Regions from separate parts of the Homo sapiens genome. Here all the other regions are linked to region 3. The links are contacts of gene promoters, found by promoter capture Hi-C in human tissues and cell types (Jung and others, 2019). All regions are on one chromosome and are shown on one strand. Each heading gives the region's core, a stretch centred on a gene start or on the middle of the fragment in contact. The rest is flanking DNA. Distances are from core to core; before and after follow the strand shown. Region 1 has its middle 160 kb from the start of POTEA. Region 2 has its middle 140 kb from the start of POTEA. Region 3 holds the start of HGSNAT (heparan-alpha-glucosaminide N-acetyltransferase).

Evidence for each region. Contacts are between HindIII fragments. The study calls those that stand out against the background at their distance.
Region 1: a contact is called between a fragment that was not itself captured here and the fragment with the promoter of HGSNAT in region 3, in 1 of the 25 tissues and cell types used here (hippocampus).
Region 2: a contact is called between a fragment that was not itself captured here and the fragment with the promoter of HGSNAT in region 3, in 1 of the 25 tissues and cell types used here (mesenchymal stem cells).

The regions. Positions count from the first base shown.
Region 1 is chr8:43,449,289-43,452,855 of GRCh38, forward strand. It overlaps the pseudogene LOC100420534. Among named protein-coding and RNA genes, the nearest start is that of POTEA, 160 kb to the left of the region's middle. The HindIII fragment of the contact is 5,741 bases long and covers 1-3,567 here.
Region 2 is chr8:43,428,188-43,432,017 of GRCh38, forward strand. No RefSeq gene overlaps it. Among named protein-coding and RNA genes, the nearest start is that of POTEA, 140 kb to the left of the region's middle. The HindIII fragment of the contact is 7,456 bases long and covers 1-3,830 here.
Region 3 is chr8:43,138,194-43,141,929 of GRCh38, forward strand. HGSNAT (heparan-alpha-glucosaminide N-acetyltransferase) reads left to right here and starts at 2,271. Exons shown (of 18, transcript NM_152419.3): 1 at 2,271-2,421. The coding sequence starts at 2,304. RefSeq lists an enhancer at 933-1,227 and silencers at 2,071-2,860, 2,871-3,250. The HindIII fragment of the contact is 19,681 bases long and covers 1-3,736 here.

The sequences.
Region 1 (3,567 bases), core at 281-2,780, 310 kb after region 3:
TCTGGTAAAGTAGATAGATGACCAAGAATTACAATTACGATGCAGTATAATCAGTGCTGTAAGAGATATTTGGAGAGTGCTGTGGAAGCATGGTAGAGAGGCAGTTAGCTACTTAAAAAGTGTCAAGGAAAAGGGGGATTGCTACTCTCTCTACTCATGCAAAAAAACAAAAATGCTGGTAGAACTCAGGACCCCATGCCTAAATATTTCCTGCATTATAAAAGAATAGGAAAGAAATATCCATTAACAAAAAGCAATACTTCTAGTTCTATGAAAACTCAATATTTTTCACTTGCATGTTCTTATTTAGTACTGTGTGTTTTTTTTCTTGAGCAATTTTCAAATATGAATTATCTACATCTTTCACCAATAGGAGAACATAGTACAGCTGCTGAGGACACCAGAAACCAAGGGCATTTATCAAAACACTATCTTCACTTACATTATAGTTTGGCGTAAGTCATTCAGATAGTGAGCATCAAATTCTATACTTTATTTCTAATTGTCTAAAACCTTATATATCCTATAAGCTGTTAAAGGATTTTTTAAAGTAAAATTATGACTCTCATACAAATGTAAAATAAACACATGAAAGATTTTATTTAAGTCATTTATGAGGGAACCAGTAAGATGTTACAACCAGTTCAAAGGAGACTTCAAAGTTGAAATATTATATATATAGTTGAATCAGAAGTGCTAAAATGTGGGGCCAGGCACGGTGGCTCACGCCTGTAATCCCAGCACTTTGGGAGGCTGAGGTGGGCGGATCACCTGAGGTCAGGAGTTCAAGACTAGCCTGGCCTACATGGTGAAACCCTATCTCTACAAAAAATACAAAAATTAGCTGGGCATGGCGGTGCCTGCCTGTAATCTCAGCTACTTGGGAAGCTGAGGTTAGAGAATTGCTTGGACCCGGGAGGCTGCAGTGAGTCAACATCATGCCACTGCACTCCAGCCTGGGTGATAGAGTGAAATTCCATCTCAAAAAAAAAAAAAACAAAAAAAAACAAACTCCCCAAACAAACAAACAAACAAACAAAAAATGCTAAAGTAAATTTACAAATTGATACAAACAAAACTGGCCTTTTCTACCAGGGCAGGGGTACATGCGGCTAAATCACTTGTCTCTCCACCAGACATACTTTTCACATCATTAGACCAGTGTTAGATGGGCTGCTGTCAGTTATTTATAACTTGTAAAGTTACAAAATAACTCTTCTTGTGAAGAAGCTTGGGGCCCCGTAGAAGCAGATAACCCAGACGCTTATGCTAGATGTCTTATTTTCCATTGAATACACCCAGTAATTTTTTTGTTCTATTTAAAAGTCTTTCATAATTTATCCTTACAAAAACTATATTCATTGTTAGTCCATTGTATTGCAAAAGACCTGCCTGCTATTTGTGGAGCATTATTCAGACTACCTTGTTTGCCCTAGCTTGCAGGTTTTTATTGAAAAAAAGAACAGTCATCAATATCAGCATGCACACACACACACATACACACACAAGCATATATATATATATATATACACACACACACAAGCACATATACATATATATGTTTAAATAGTAGTAATCATTTTTGGTGAGTGACCATTTCAAAATCTCTTATCAACTACAAAATGAGAACTGTAGAAAATATAATACTATAAGCAACTCATATGTGAAAATGGTACAATGAGACAGATTTAGGACAAAATTGACCTTAAGGTTTTGATTCTTTCCAAGACAGCATTTCTGGGTTACTGCTTGGAAATAAAGGTATACTTTAAATTTCATTGCTGTCTAATTTGATCAGAAAGCTTTTTGTGGGTTTTAGTTGTTAATATTCTGAAATGTTAAAGGGTTGACCTAAGTTTAAATGCATTGTACTAGTTTCAGGGAAATATTTCAGGCATCATTTTTATGAGGCATTTTCTGCATTATTTTACATTTTTGAGTTGTGAAGACAGTGTACAAAAACAAAAAAATTCCCAGTGCTTATTTTTTCTTTCTGTCCAGACAGTCCTCACTTGTGTGGTATCATGTTAACTGAAACTTCTGCATATATGAACCATGTTGTTGATTTGCACTCTTCCCCATGCAAAGTGAAAATTGCATGCCTTTGCAAGTTTTTAAATACAATGTCTTGCTTAAAGAGTGCATTTTTCTTTCTTTACGCTATGAGACCAGCTTCTGAGTGCCAATGTTGTTAGCCTAAGGTATCTCTTTGGTATATTACACAATATTGAGCAACAATCCTCAATCAATCACATGAATGCATATAATTTAGTGGTATGTGTCACTTCAAGCATTATTTGGTCTCCTACCTCCTCCATCCAAGAACTAAAAGATGAATTTAAAAGAAAGGTAATAAAGTTTTTCACTTTTATGCCTTGGGGGACTGAGCCCCCATTTTGAAACTGAAATCCAGAGTATCAATTCTGAAAGATGATTTCTTACATAACTTAAGTACACATACTTCTTATAAATTTGATTTTACTGATAAACTATAGGAAAGTGATTTGTTAAGTAGAAAAGTGATCACAATCAGGTTGCTTCTTTCTTCCCTTTAAGGAGTCTAAACACTAAGAGTAAATTAATCATAAAGTGATAAAACAGTTGATATGAGTTTTCAGATTCAAAAAACAAGAGAACTTTGGAGTTAGGCCAGCCCAGATTCAATTCTCAGTCCCACTTCTTGCCAGGCGTACAATCTTGGGCATCATTCGTTACATTGACCTAAAGTGTTATCTGAAAAAAAAATGGGGTTGGTGATAATAGAGTAGTTACTTGAAATCACAGTTTTGCAGTGCCTGACAGTTAATAAGGGGCTTGGAGATATCAGTTGCCTTTGCTCTCAACGTTTCTCCTGCCCCTTGGCCCCAGTCCTGGAGCACAGAAACTACAGAAAGGTTCCAGTGCATCTCAGTGGAGGCACACAATGTCCCTAGTAATCTCTGACCTCTCCCCCAGGTGCCACTAGTTAGGGAGTCTAGTGAAATGCTACACAGGGGTAGACCAGTCAGTCCAATGCATGCATGGGTAGAGACTAGACAGGGAAAATACAAGTTTTTTTCCTAGCTGTCTTTCTTTTTCACGATGCACCCACAGATGAGCCCTCCTCCCAAGTTTATGACAACCTGCCCTTTATATAAGGAATACTTTTCATAAGCCTTTGTCTAATGATGCTTTATAAACATTAATAACACAGTGTATTTGTTTACCCCAAACATCCTATGGAGAACACTTATATCCAAATTTTAAAGACAGAGTCACTGGTATAAAATTGTAGCATTAAGCCAAGGCCAGAAGTAAAAACTTTAGTCCACTAATTAAATTTGTATGCGCAAACTACCTTTGAGAGTATCATAGATTTTTTTGGGGAAAGTGTTTCATGTACTTTTAAACAGATATAATTTCTTTTGAGTACATTTGCTTTTTTTGCTGTTAAAATTAGGATTCATAAATGAAAAGGGATTTATAAACCTAATGTGAAAAGTAATACTTCATTTGTTCTTTTTTTGTACAGTATTGCTGATTATACAATTTCCGATTGAAAATTGTTGTATAATATTTGGAGAAAAA
Region 2 (3,830 bases), core at 849-3,348, 290 kb after region 3:
ACTGCTCAAGGAAATAAAAGAGGATACAAACAAATGGAAGAACATTCCATGCTCATGGGTAGGAAGAATCAATATCGTGAAAATGGCCATACTGCCCAAGGTAATTTACAGATTCAATGCCATCCCCATGAAGCTACCAATGACTTTCTTCACAGAATTGGAAAAAACTACTTTAAAGTTCATATGGAACCAAAAAAGAGCCCACATCACCAAGTCAATCCTAAGCCAAAAGAACAAAGCTGGAGGCATCACACTACCTGACTTCAAACTATACTACAAGGCTACAGTAACCAAAACAGCATGGTACTGGTAGTAAAACAGAGATATAGATCAATGGAACAGAACAGAGCTCTCAGAAATAACACCGCATATCTACAAATATCTGATCTTTGACAAACCTGAGAAAAACAAGCAATGGGGAAAGGAGTCCCTATTTAATAAAGGGTGCTGGGAAAACTGGCTAGCCATATGTAGAAAGCTGAAACTGGATCCCTTCCTTATACCTTATACAAAAATTAATTCAGGATGGATTGAAGACTTACATGTTAGACCTAAAACCATAAAAACCCTAGAAGAAAACCTAGGCATTACCATTCAGGACACAGGCATGGGCAAGGACTTCATGTCTAAAACAACAAAAGCAATGGCAATGAAAGTCAAAATTGACAAATGAGATCTAATTAAACTAAGAGCTTTTGCACAGCAAAAGAAACTACCATCAGAGTGAACAGGCAACCTACAGAATGGGAGAAAAGTTTTGCAATCTACTCATCTGACAAAGGGCTAATATCCAGAATCTACAATGAACTCCAATAAATTTACAAGAAAAAAACAAAGAACCCCATCAAAAAGTGGGTAAAGGACATGAACAGACACTTCTCAAAAGAAGACATTTATGCAGCCAACAGACATATGAAAAAATGCTCATCGTTACTGGCCGTCAGAGAAATGCAAATCAAAACCACAATGTGATATCATCTCACACCAGTTAGAATGGCAATCATTAAAAAGTCAGGAAATAACAGGTGCTGGAGAGGATGTGGAGAAATAGGAACACTTTTACACTGTTGGTGGGACTATAAACTAGTTAAACCATTGTGGAAGACAATGTGGCGATTCCTCAGGGATCTAGAACTAGAAATACCATTTGACCCAGCCACCACATTACTTGGTATAAACCCAAAGGAATATAAATCATGCTGCTATAAAGACACATGCACCCATATGTTTATTGCAGCACTATTCACAATAGCAAAGACTTGGAACCAACCCAAATGTCCAACAATGATAGACTGGATTAAGAAAATGTGGCACACATACACCGTGGAATACTATGCAGCCATAAAAAAGGATGTGTTAATGTCCTTTGTAGGGACATGGATGAAGCTGGAAACCATCATTCTCAGCAAACTCTCACAAGGACAAAAAGCCAAACACTGCATGTTCTTACTCTTAGGTGGTAAATGAACAATGAGAACACATGGACACAGGAAGGGGAACATCACACACTGGTGCCTGTTTTGGGGTGGGGGAATGGGGGAGGGATAGCATTAGCAGATATACCTAATTTAAATGAGGAGTTAATGGGTACAGCACACCAATGTGGCACATGTATACATATGTAGCAAACCTGCACGTTGTGCTCATGTACCCTAGAACTTAAAGTATAATAAAAAGAAAAAAAAGTATGTGTATGTATCTATACATATTTATAAAAGAAGGCAACATAGTGACAGCCTGTTAGAGACCCAATTTGCATAATAAAAGATCAGGGTGGGGTGGCCAGCCTCTTCACGTACTATATAAAGGGCACACCTGGTTTAACCAATCCTCTGTGCCCTATATAAGGCAGACATGACTTCCTCAAGCTCATCTATAAACCAACTGCATCTTGCTATGAACCTGGAAACCATTTGGGATCTCTTCCTCTGCACCAGAAAGCTCTCTTCTTTGTTTCACTTATTAAACTTCTGCTCTTAAACCCACTCCTTTTGTCTGTGTCTGTGTCCTTGATTTCCTCGGTGTGAGGCAATGAACCTTGTGTATTACCCCAGACAAATGAGGCAGCTTCATTGTGGGGGCTTGTCCAGGATTATCAAAAGGGTGAGTATAGGAGTGGACCTCAACTCTGTCCTTTTATTTCAGGGCTCTCAGCCTCCATTTTAATTATTTAATTATTTTATTTTTTTGAGACAGAGTCTCACTGTATCACTCAGGCTGGAGTGCAGTGGCATTATCTTGGTTCACTGCAACCACCACCTCCCAGGTTTAGGTGATTCTCATTTCTCAGCCTCCTAAGTAGCTGGAATTATGACACATGCCACCACACCTGGCTAATTTTTGTATTTTTAGTAGAGATGGGGTTTTGCCATATTGGGCAGGCTGGCACCAAAGTTCTGGGATGAGGTGTGAGCCACCACACCTGGCCCTTAACCTCCATTTTAAAGTCAAATCAAACCATATACTGTGTGTCTGATGGCCACCTAGATACCTCTAGTGTGAGCCATGCTTCTCAAGGCTCAGATGACAGGCTTGTTGGGCTGTCATGATAGTGAATCCACTAGTGCCCTCAGGTTGCTGGGCTTATTGGTTATGTTTCAAACCAATTTTCCTTCATGGAGGAACTAGCCATCTCATGGGGCTTGAAGAAGTCCTAGGGCAACTGACAATTTCTGGCCAGGGCTAAACCTTGATGTAATTCAAAAGCTTTGGGACTGAACTCAGCCTCCAGCTGCTCAATTGGATCAGCAACAGAATCTCCAGCTTTTCTATTGCAGAATGTTCTCCTTTCCTATCCACCACCATCATGTCTCCTCTCTCTGTATGCAATATCATGGGAATTTTTACAGTTCAGAGAAATAGTCCTGTTAGGAAAGATCAAAAAATGCTATAGTAACTACAAATATAGCTCAAGGGAATGCCACTTTTGTAACTTTCTAGAAGCAGAGGTCTCCCCCAGCGAGTGTTTCTACCCTTCCTCTGGCAAGCATATGGTATTTCTAGGTCAGCAGCGTCAACTAGTGGAGTATCCTTACCATGAGTCTCAGTGTTGGTCCTTTGCTGAGACACTCCAGCTTCCCAATTCTCCCTTTTTGTGCCCCTCTACCAGATTCCAGGGTTTATGGCTTTCTGTAAATGGGAAAAACTATGCCATGAAAGATCAGGAGGAAAATGTCCTCTGAAACTGTTTTAGTCTGAACACTGTCCCATCAGCAGGAAAACCACCATTTGATCCCTATGTTCTTTTAACACACCAATCCTGCTTGCAGTTAAGACAATACTTAAATAGTAAGGGAATTTTAAGTCCAGAAGTTAACCACTACCATTCTCTAGGGGTAAATCCTTTAGCACGACCCACAATAGCAGGATATAGAGTTCAATCTTGTACACCCCCTCCATTAAAGGGGCCATGCCCAAATTCAACTATTACATAGTCTTTCCTGAGATCCATTTTTCAGGGAGCCATGAAGATCATACAAGTCTAGGAAGTCAGGGTAATCAAAAACAGAGAACTAGGGCTGCATGGGTACACATGACTAAACTCATCACTTAATTCCTCTGGTTCCATGGCTGGGGAATCATGCCTGCAACCATGGGTAGCATGTTTAACAAGGTGCCAGGAGCCCAGGAACCAAAGAGAGAAAACAGTAGGGGGAATGCCCCCACTGTCTTCCCCTCCACCCTGGGCCATCCCAAGGAAAGGATCCTTTTATTCTCAGTTCTCTTTCTAGATGGGTAACAGACCATCTTTGGCCTGTACTCCTCTCAAGTGTATTCTAAAGCACTGGGACTCATTTAACCCCAAAACTTTGAAGAAAAAAGCAGCTCAT
Region 3 (3,736 bases), core at 1,021-3,520:
GCTCCCCTCTTTCTATGTGGGTAGCCATTTATCTTCAGTCTGCACCACTTTCAAATGCATCTGGAACCCTTCGGATTCCTTTGAAAAAATGCCTTCTTTTTTCCTTTCTCCTCCTCGGTTCACAATGACAATCCTAATTGTGTCTCCATACTATGGGACACTCCCCTCAGATGCATTTTCCAAACTGGAAAGAGTTAATTTCCTAAACCTTAAACTGGCTGGCTTAGGATTGGTTTCAGGGGAAGGGAACCCAGAAGCCCAACATGCCAGCAAAAGGGTAAAGTTGTTTACCATTCGGACTTTTGGCCCCCTTCTCCGTGTACAAATTGGTAAAAAGCCTCAGGATTTTTGAGCTGTCCTTATCCCTCCCCTTGTTTCTTTTCTTTTCTTTTTTTTTTTGAGACAGGGTCTCACTCTGTCGCCCAGGCTGGAGTGCAGTGATGTGGTCTTGGCTCACTGCAACCTCCGTTCAAACGATTCTCCTGCCTCAACCTCCTAAGTAGCTGGGAGTACAGGCAGGCACCACCACTGCTGGCTAATTTTTGTATTTTTAGTAGAGACAGGGTTTCACCATGTTGGCCAGGCTGGTCTTGAACTCCTGACCTGCCAGGCTGGAGTGCAGTGGCATAATCTTGGCTCACTGCAAACTCTGCCTCCCGGATTCAAGTGATTCTCCTGCCTCAGCCTCCCAAGTAGCTGGGACTACAGGTACTTGCCATGACGCCCGGCTAATTTTTTGTATTTTTAGTAGTGACAGGGTTTCACCATGTTGGCCAGGATGGTCTCGATTTCTTGACCTCGTGATCCACCTGCCTTGGCCTCCCAAAGTGCTGGGATTACAGGCGTGAGCCACTGTGCCCGGCCATATGTGTTTAATAACCCAGTTTGTCTCTTCTTGCCTTCAGGACATCAAACGGTCATGCTACTGGAAGCTCGGACCATGGCCCCTTCTGCTGGGCACCCTTAGATAGGCCTCTGAGGGAGATCTGATTGCCATTTTCCCGAAACAGTGCCCCCTATCAGCAGGAAGCAGTTAAGATCTGTCTTTGTCCCTATTCTTATCCTAGTGGCAGTTAGATAGACTTCTTTAGAGCGAGGAATGAGCCAGATGGGAAGGGTTCCCTGGTAAAACTCCAACTGGCCTGTGCACTGCTCTGGGGTGGAGCCACAGAAGTTCGCTCCTCAGTTTGCAGCTGGGAGGAGCCTGGCCCTCCTCTTCCTCGGGAGAACCTGGGATTTAATCTGTGAGGTGGGAAGCCTACAACTAGGAGAACTCTGGCTCTGCTGAGTCCCTGTTCCCCTTTTTCTTCCTTTACACCCAATAAAACCCTGCCTTACCCTTCAAATTGTCTGCGAGCCTAATCTTTCCTGGCGTGTGACAAGGACCTCCACCGTCTTTAGCTGAACTAAGGAAAAGTCCCGCAACATTTTCATGTGTGCCTTTGTATTTTTATTACATATATGGATGTCCCTAAACAACATACATTATTGTTTTGCTTTATATATTAAAAAGGCATTCTGCAATTTGCATTTTCCCCAGCCTTGTGTTTTGAGATTTATCCATGTGGATGCGGGAAGCTGTAGAGCACTTCCCCTGCTGTGGGGCAGTTTGTTTTCTCGCTGGCGGACATTCAGCTTGTTGACAAGGTTTTGCAATTACAAGCACCTCTGCTATAGGTATTACTGTACCTGTCCCTTATACCTGCGATAGTGTCTCCCGGCATACAGCCAAGAATGGGTGTGCACACTCCTCGACCTGCTCCCTTCCACTTCGTCAGCCTGGCCGGGGGCTCTTTCAAGAGGTGGGGCCGCTTGGTGGCTTCTAAGTCGTGCCTCTCCCTCTGGGTAATAAACGCCTTGGGGGCAGGGACTTTGCAGTCTTGCTTATTGAGGCGTTTTCCAAAACAGGGACCGAGGGCTCTAACACCCGTGCGGAGGGTGGCCGGCGGGGGCGGGAGTTTGGCAGAATGCGGCTGGAGAAGGTGGGGCGAGGGAAGAAGGCTCCTGGCCTGCAGGGGCCTCTCTTCCGGCTGTTTTTCCTCCCGAAGACAAACACTCCCAACGCAGGGGCGCAGAGCCTCGGCTTCTTTCCTGGCCAGCTCCCTCAAGGCAGGGCCTAGCATGGCCCGGCCCAGCCCCTAGGTTCCCCCGCCCGCGGCTCCCGGGCGCCTCCGCCTCCCGCGGTGACTCAGGCGGCGGTGACGGCAGCGGAGGGGGCGATGACGGGCGCGCGGGCGTCCGCGGCGGAGCAGCGCAGGGCGGGGCGCAGCGGGCAGGCAAGGGCGGCCGAGCGGGCGGCGGGCATGAGCGGGGCGGGCAGGGCGCTGGCCGCGCTGCTGCTGGCCGCGTCCGTGCTGAGCGCCGCGCTGCTGGCCCCCGGCGGCTCTTCGGGGCGCGATGCCCAGGCCGCGCCGCCACGAGGTGAGTGCACACCTCCTACCGCCGCCCGGCCGGCTACGAGCGCAGCGTCTCCTCTCCGCGGCGCCGCCCCTATCTCCGTGCGCGGCGCCGAGCGCTAGGCCGGGCCGGAACCGCCCCCGTGGCCTGGGCTGTTGCTGCGACTTCGCGGTCCCGCGCCCCAGACCGGAGGCCGGACTTCGGGGTGCTGCGGCCGGGCCCCGCGGAGGCGGGGGAGGGGGCGGTTCGGACCGCGGCGGAGTGGAACCTGGGCGCCCAGGCGGCGCCCACCCCAGCGGAGCCTGCGTCCTGGCGCCTTCCGTCTAAACAGAGGCCGCGGATCGGGACGCCGGGACCCCACAAACTGGCAGCCAGGAGGCGGGCCAGCCGAGGATCGGGGGGGCTCGGACTCCCCCTGCACCCAGTCCACTGTTCGGAGGGACTTAGAGCAGGGTCCCTTCCCTGAGGGCCTCGCCCCCGAGGACGTGGCGCCGGAGCCGTGCGACCCATTGGCTTCAGCGGGTGGGAAGCCTGGGGCCGGGACGCGCGTTCGCCCCGCGCTGGGGTTGAACCTGCGTGGATGTGCGGCGGGTGAGGAACCGCGGAGAAGGCGGTGGGGGCGCGGCCTGCAGCCCGGTCCCGGGCGAGCCCTCCGCGCGTCTCCCCTCGGCGCGTTTTCCCTCCAGGGTGACTGGGAAGCCGCCGCCGCCGCCGCCGCCGCCTGGGAGGGGCCGGGCTGGGCGCTTTTGCCCCGGGCCCCGGACCCCGGGCGTTTGTCCGGTGCGCTGGCTTAAGAGGCGCTCAGCTCATACCGTGATTGCACAACTGGCTTGCTCTCCGAACTCGGTGGGGAAAACGGTGACAAATACAGATTCCAGGTCTCCATCTAGACCCCTGCACCGGGGAGCCCCAGGCCCTAGGTCCTTCGCACACGCCCCTCCCAGAGGGGTCGGGCAAGCATCGCAAACCCCTTTGGGTAGGAGGGACGGTGGGAGTCACCTGTCTTTCCCCTCTCGCGCCCTTTTCTTGGTCAGAATACGAAGTTTTAGTGTCTGTGTATGGAGTTCAAACGACCCCTCCTCTCCAAGCAGAAGCTGGAGGAGAAAGGCGTTGTGAATTTTGGAAAAGCGGCTCAGAGGATTACATTTTGTGCGATCCTTGATCCACCCAACCTTCATCTCCTGCGCTCCCCTCCTTTAAAATTGCAAGGACCCCGGGGAGGTTATGTAATCTGCCTGATCACAATTTGTCAGGGACTGATCCCGCCGAACACTCTTTGCATTTTAGCGCCAGTATTAGCTTATCAAAGGGCACTTACTTTTAGAGAGAGGTGGTTTGT